Regions from separate parts of the Homo sapiens genome. Here region 1 is linked to region 2. Evidence: promoter capture Hi-C in human tissues and cell types (Jung and others, 2019). All regions are on one chromosome and are shown on one strand. Each heading gives the region's core, a stretch centred on a gene start or on the middle of the fragment in contact. The rest is flanking DNA. Distances are from core to core; before and after follow the strand shown.

What was found. Contacts are between HindIII fragments. The study calls those that stand out against the background at their distance.
Region 1: a fragment that was not itself captured here is called in contact with the fragment with the promoter of WNT6 in region 2 in 1 of the 25 tissues and cell types used here (aorta).

The regions. Positions count from the first base shown.
Region 1 is chr2:218,921,554-218,925,187 of GRCh38, forward strand. LINC01494 (long intergenic non-protein coding RNA 1494) reads right to left here. Exons shown (of 5, transcript NR_110238.1): 3 at 137-207. LOC124907984 (a long non-coding RNA gene) reads left to right here and starts at 3,339. Exons shown (of 2, transcript XR_007088091.1): 1 at 3,339-3,634. The HindIII fragment of the contact is 4,123 bases long and covers 1-3,634 here.
Region 2 is chr2:218,857,423-218,861,216 of GRCh38, forward strand. It overlaps WNT6 (Wnt family member 6), which reads left to right and starts at 2,383. Exons shown (of 4, transcript NM_006522.4): 1 at 2,383-2,695. The coding sequence starts at 2,616. The HindIII fragment of the contact is 31,874 bases long and covers 1-3,794 here.

The DNA.
Region 1 (3,634 bases), core at 619-3,118, 64 kb after region 2:
CATTATATATATACATTATAATGTGTATATATATAATGCATATATATAGTAGAAGAATTTACTTTCTATATAGTAAATTTTGTGTATACACACACATACACATACAAAACTGGATCAGTAAGGAATTTACACTTACTTCTTTAGATGAAGACCCCCAGGAGAGGGTAAGATGACAGAGTCTCTGGGTCAGAAGTGACCTCATTTTCCCTGAAAGTTTACAGGGCAAAGTCACAAGTGAGTCTGTTATGTTTGGGGTGTTTGTCCTCTTCAAATCTCATGTTGAAATGTAACCGTCACTGTTAGAGGTGAGACCTGGTGGGAGGTGATTTGATCATGGGGGTGGATCCTTCACAAATGGCTTAGCACCATTTCTTGGTGATGTTCTCTCCCAGTTAGTTCACATGAGAACTGGTTGTTTAAAAGAATCTGAGACCTCCCCCTTCTCTCTTTTGCGCCCTCTCTTCACCATGTGATGTGCTGGCTCCCCTTCACTTTGTGCCATGATTGAAAGCTTCCTGAGGCCTTCACAAGAAGCTGATGCTGGCACCATGCTTCCTGTACAGCCTGCAGAAACGTGAGCCAAATCAAAGCCTGTTTTCTTTATAAATTACCTAGTCTCAGGTATTTCTTTATAGCAGCACAAGAATGGACTAACACAGAGTCTGTGGGAAATAGGACTCAAAAAATTGGTGGCAGGGTGAAGTGTCACCCAAATACTGGCCATCAGGCAGGAATATGGTCAGGGGGAGTAGGCTGCTCTTATTTTCTCACTCAAAGTTCCCACAGCCTACTTTCAGCTCTCGGGAATGGGTGAGAACAAAACATTTTTGTGGGAGTGAAATAAATATCTTTAGATAATCCACGTAGGAGGGTAAGGAGGGAATAACAGGAACTTCATCAACACATGATATATTAATCCATTTTAACTATAAAGAACTACCTGAGACTGAGTAATTTATGAAGAAAAGAGGTTTAATTTCCTCACATTTCCACAGGCTTAACAGGAAGCATGGCTGGTAACTTACAATTGTGGTGGAGGGGTTAGGGGAATCAAGCATGTCTTACCGTGGTGGAGCAGGAAAGAGCGAGAGTGAAGAGGGAAGTGCCACACACTTTTGAACAACCAGATCTTGTGAGAACTCACTCTCACAAGAATAGCAAGCGGGAACTCCACCCCAATGATTCAATCACCTGCCACCAGGCCCCTCCCCCCACATGTGGGGATTACAATTCGAAATGAGATTTGGGTGAGGACAGAGCCAAACCATATCATTCCACCCCTGGCCCCTCCAAAATCTCATGTCATCACATTTCAAAGCCAAGCATGCCTTCCCAACAGTCCCCCAAAGTCTTAACTCATTCCAGCATTAACTCAAAAGTCTAAGTCCAAAGTCTCATCTGAGACAAGGCAAGCCCCTTCCGCCTATGAGCCTGTAAAATAAAAAACAAGTTAGTAACTTCCAAGATACAATGGAAATACAGGAATTAGGTAAATGCTCCCATTGCAAAGGGGGAAATTGGCCAAAACCAAGGGACTACAGGTCCTATGCAAGATCAAAACCTGGCAAGGAAGTCATTAAATCTTTTTTTTTTTTTTTTTTTTTGGAGACAGAGTCTTGCTCTGTCACCCAGGGTGGAGTGCAGTGGTGCTATCTTGGCTCACTGCAACCTCCACCTTCTGGGTTCAAGCAATTCTCCTGCCTTAGCCTCCCGAGTAGCTGGGACTACAGGCACATGCTGACATGCCCAGCTAATTTTTTGTATTTTATTAGAGACAGGGTTTCACCGTGTTACCCAGGCTGTTCTTGAACTCCTGAACTCAGGCAATCCACCCATCTCGGCCTCCCAAAGTACTAGGATTACAGGCGTGAGCCACTGTCCCTGGCTGGAAGTCATTAAATCTTAAACCTCCAAAATAATCTCCTTTGACTCCATGTCTCACATCCAGGGCATGCTGATGCAAGAGGTGGGCTCCCAAGGCCTTGGGAAGTTTTGCCTCTGTGGCTCTGCAGGGTACAGCCCCCATAGCTGCTTTCATGGGCTGGCATTGAGTGCCTGTGGCTTTTCTGGGCACATGGTGCAAGCTGTCAGTGGATGTACCATTCTGGGGTTTGGAGGACGGTGGCCCTCTTCTCATGGTTCCACTAGGCAGTGCCCTGGTGGGGACTCTGTGTCAGGGCTCCAATCCCACACTTCCCCGCTGCACTGCCCATGAGGGCTCTGCCCCTGCAGCTGACTTCTGCCTGGACATCCAGGCATTTCCATACATCCTCTGAAATCTAGGTGGAGATTCCAAAACCTCAACTCTTGCCATCTGCACACCTGCAGGCCCAACATCACATGGAAGCTGCCAAAGACTTGGGGCTTGCAATCTCTGAAGCAATGGCCCGAGCTGTACCTTGGCCCCTTTTAGCCATGGCTAGAGCTGGAGTGGCTGGGATCCAGGGCATCACGTCCCAAGGCTGCACAGAGCTGCTGGGGCCTGGGCCTGGGCCATGAAACCATTTTTTCCTTCTAGGTCTCTGGGCTTGTGATGGGAGGGGCTGCCTCAGTGGTCTCTGAAATGCCCAGGAGACATTTTCCCCATTGTCTTGGCTATTTAACTCTTCTTTACTTATGCAAACTTCTGCAGCAGGCTTGAATTTCTCCCCAGAAAATGGATTTTTCTTTTCTACCACATGGCCAGGCTGCAAATTTTCTAAACTTATATGCTGTACTTCCCTTTTAAATGTAAGTTCCAGTTTCAGATCATCTCTTTGTTCATGCATATGAGCATACACTTTTAGAAACAGCCAGTTTACCTCCTGAATGCTTTGCTGCTTAGAAATTTCTTCCAGCAGATACCCTAAATCATCTCTCTCAAGTTCAAAGTTCCACAGATCTCTAGGGCAGGGGAAAAAATGCTACCAGTATCTTTGCTAAAGCATAGCAAGAGTGACCTTTACTCTAGTTCTCAATAAGTTCCTCATCTCCATCTGAGACCACTTGAGTCTGGACTTCATTGTCCATATCACTATCAGCATTCTCATCAAAACAATTCAACAAATCTTCATGAAGTTCCAAACTTTCCCACGTCTTCCTGTCTTCTTCTGAGCTTTCCGAACTGTTCCAACCTCTGCCTGTTACCCAGTTCCAAAGTTGCTTCCACATTTTCAGATATCTTTATAGCTGTTATAAATAATTTTCTGTATAGTCCATTTTCACACTGCTATAAAGAGCTGCCTGAGACTGAGTAATTTGTGAAGAAAAGAGGTTTAATTCACTCACAGTTCTGCAGGCTTAACAGGAAGCATGGCTGGAAAGCCTCAGGAAACTTACAATCATGGCAGAACTTAAAGGGGAAGCAAGCGTGTCTTACCATGGCAGAGCAGGAGAGAGAAAGAGTGAAGGGGAAGTGCCACACACTTTCAAACAACCAGATCGCATGAGAATTCACTCACAGTCAAGAACAGCAATGGGGAAGTCCATGCCCATGATTCAATCACCTCTCACCAGACCCCTCCCCTGACATGTGGGGATTAAAATTCAAGATGAGATTTGGGTGGGGATGCAGAGCCAAACCATATCACATGGTCAACACAAGCTTCTTGGTGATGCCCCAAACTTCAGAACCAGTTAAAGGTTTACCATCAGC
Region 2 (3,794 bases), core at 1,133-3,632:
ATCTGGCTAGAGTGAGTGCTGCAGGAGGGGTGGGGCCAGCTGTGTATGTTTGCAGGAAAGGTGGGGGGTGGGGGCAGAAAGGCCGCCTGCGGGGGAGAAGGCTTCTTGGCAAACGCCCCAGTTTCCTGAGCTGATCCCTGCTCCCTGCCACTGCTCCCAATTCTGTTGTTTCAATAACATCATTTTTATCCACCCCACAGAGAGACTGTGTCTTAGGAAGGGGAGGCGAGGGGCAGGGCTAGGGCATGGGGGAGGGGTGGTAATGGAGAGAGGCTGGGTCTGGAGGCAGCAGGGACTAGATTTGGGGCGCTCCCTCCTCAGGCAGAGGCAGGGCGGTCTCAGAGCCCAGGTCCCCTGATGACAAAGACAAATACATTAAAATTCTTGCCTCGGAGAAGAATGCAGGATAGGGAGAGCATTTCATAATCTGCAATAACAGTAGCAGGGTGGGAGCAGGGCTGGGCAGGGGGTTCGGAACCCAGACAGTGGCTCCCAGGAGGCTGGCCACTGGCCACCTGTAGCCTCCAGGGACCCCCAGAGCCCTCTAGCTGCCTATTTGGTACCACATGGCTGGAGTGTGCACCCAAACTGGGTATGTCTTTGAATGTGTAGTGTCCAGAGTTGGCATTGACCTTTAGGAACTGTCCAGATTGGCATTGCCCCGTAGAAACAGCAACTGTGTGCAAAGTTACTAGGTGCAGGGGCTGTGCGTGGCCTTTGGATACTGTTAAAGGCTAAAATGGGAGAGGGCAGTGCTTAGACCAGACCCTCTCTCTATGACTCTTGCCACTGCCCCCTGCCCCCTTCCCCTTCTTTAGTGTGTCCTAGCCCTTTCACCAGAACTCTCTGTATCCAGTGCAAGGGATTGAGCTGATGCAGCCTGGACACCAGGGCCCTGACATGGAGCTTGCTTGCCGGCAAGTCCACACTTCTCCAGTTCTCTCACCTCTGTCTGCTCATTCCTTCCCCCATCAGCCTCCTCCCCTGGGGTCACATCCCTTGGCCCCTTGGCCTCATCTTGATCTACTTGTCCCCCCTCTCTGGGTGACTCAGGATCTTGTCTTCTCTCTCTGCTCACCAAGGTTGTTTGGAAGTGACCTCAGTCATCACTCTCTTGGAAGCGACCTCAGTCCCCACATTCAGGTCCCCCTCTCTACCAACAACCAGGAGCTTTCTTCTGGGCGCCTGACGTTTCTGCCATAGGGACTCGATCTGTCCTCCCCACTCCAGGACAGCTTTAAAGGTTGATGGTTGCTCTTGATGGTATGGCAGGGAGAATGTCCCACACCACCTGTCCCTTGGCACCCCGGGGCACGTCGGGGACGGGAGGGGCAGGGGCTGCTGCCCACTGCCAGCCGAATGGCATGATGAATGGAGCTGTCCCTCTTCCCCACGGAGCCTTTGATCTCCCCCTCGTGGGGAGGGGGCCAGGGGCATCAAAGACATTTTTGTGGCATTAGAAAATCTGATAAACGCCATCTCACCTGCAGCTGGCTCTCCCACCCCTTCTACCCGGGCCAGGTTGGGGGAGGAACTCGAGGCAGGGACTCTTGGACACGCGAGGCCGGGCTAAAGCGAATTCTGACCCCTCGATCTCTTGAAAGTCTGCGACCTCCATTCTCCCGCTCGCTTACAAGTGCCAGCGCTTGCGCGCACGCCCTGGAGCGGCTACTCTTGCCCTCTCATTTCCCCCACCTCCCCGCCCTAGAACGCGGGCTTGAGAGGTGGGATGGCTGGGGGAGCGAGAGCGGAGGCCCAGGGCTTCCTCCCTTCTTCAAGGAGAGGCTGACGAAGGGGCATGAGGCATCGAACAGGGACACGGAAAGAGATGACCCCTCCAGCATCCGCCTGTCGGGCGGTCCAGTTTGACAACCCTCGCCGAAGCACCCCGCGCCCCAGGCCAACTTCCTCTCTTGCCTCCGCGCCAGCATCTCCCTCCGCACCGCCCCCCGCCCCAAACTCCCTCATTCCTGGGAAGTTTTCTCTCTTTACAGTCAACAAACCTGTCAAACGTCTCCCTTCCAGCCCGTCCCCCATTCCTCAGCTCCTCTTTCTCCCCCCTCACCCCTCTCTACTCTTCTTCCCAGCCCTTCCTTGCCCCCGACTCCAGGCGGCCGCGAGCGGCGGGGGGCTCCAAGTCCGAGAGAGGCGAGGCGAGGGGGCGAAGCGGGCGGGTCCCACAGCCCGAAGCGCGCTGGGGCCCCGCCCCGGCACCCCGCTCCCGCCCTCCGCTGCGCTCCGCGCCAGCCGCCCCGGGGCGCACGGCTCGCTCCCGAGAGTCCCGCTGCCTGACTGTCGCAACTGCCACCTCCCTCCGGCCCCCTGCCCCCCGCCCCCGCCTCGGCCCCGCTCCCCTCCCACCTCCGCCCCCGGCTCTGATTTCTTCTCCCGAGCGAGCTCCGCAGGAGACACAGGCGCTGGCTGCCCCGTCCGCTCTCCGCCTCCGCCGCGCCCTCCTCGCCCGGGATGGGCCCCCCCGCCGCCGCCGGATCCCTCGCCTCCCGGCCGCCGCCGTTGCGCTCGCCGCGCTCGCACTGAAGCCCGGGCCCTCGCGCGCCGCGGTTCGCCCCGCAGCCTCGCCCCCTGCCCACCCGGGCGGCCGTAGGGCGGTCACGATGCTGCCGCCCTTACCCTCCCGCCTCGGGCTGCTGCTGCTGCTGCTCCTGTGCCCGGCGCACGTCGGCGGACTGTGGTGGTGAGTCCGGCTGTCCTGGCGCGGCTCTGGACCCTGGAGGGTGGGGACCCCGGGACCCAGGACAGACTGGGGTGTTCCGCAGCCTCCCGGCTCTACCTGCTCTCCGAGCCCAGCTTTCTGGCCTCGGCCGGGGGCGTTTCTGAACTCCACTTCGACGTTCCTAACCCTCGGGAACATTCTATTGTGTTTCCTCCTCCCGGGTTCTCTCCCACCCCCCGCCAAGTTATGCGCTCACCCAGCTCACCAAGGAACAGGCGAGTGGGTAGGAAAGATCTTTCGGGAAGACACATATCCGAGGAAAAGAATGTGTGAGGAGGGCCCTGGATTCAGGGTATGGGGCTGGATTTGGAGAAGACAGGAACAAGGTGGGAAGCCACAAGGCAGAGAGGGCCACACAGCTGCCCCTTCCCCGCCCTGCTTTGCCTACCAACCCACCGGCTTCTCTCTGGGCTCCTGAGGAGTGGGCCTTAGTGACGACAGAGGGAATATAAAGGGGAAAGTGAGTCAGGACCCTGGTTTTCTCTACCTCGTCCTCCCCAAGCAAGGAAAAGGAGGAGCGGAAGGAACCGGACCCAGGCGCCCGGCCCTTCCAGACCTGGGGGTCATGAATGAAAAAATATGTGCAGCCCGGGAGATACGGGACCGGGAGGGGTCCTGCGGGAAGGGAGAGGGGCCTGGCCAGCCAAGGGAAGGGGGCGTCTTCCCAGGCTTGGCCCTAGCTAGAAGGGACACCTAGGCAGCGAAGGTTGCGGGAGCTTCGAGCCTTGGGGGTGGGGGTGGGGCCGGGGCGGGGAAGGAGGGTGCCCGACCGGGACGGCTCAGAGATCCAGATCCAAAGGACTTTTTTCCCCCTAGGTCTCCAGAGCCGCAAACCCTCGCCCGGAATAGCTCAGTGTTTAGAGAGGAGAGACTTGGACAATAACGCTGACGGGTTAGCCAATCCTAAGAAGGCAGGGTCGTGTCTATTTGCATATTGCCATGTGATTGGCTGGATGCCGACCCTCCGCTCCTCCCTCGCCCCCCAGATTTGGAAGAGAGGCAGATCCCCGTGCTCTGGAGAGATAGGGAGTAGGATGCCCACACAGGGAGTGGCGGGCAG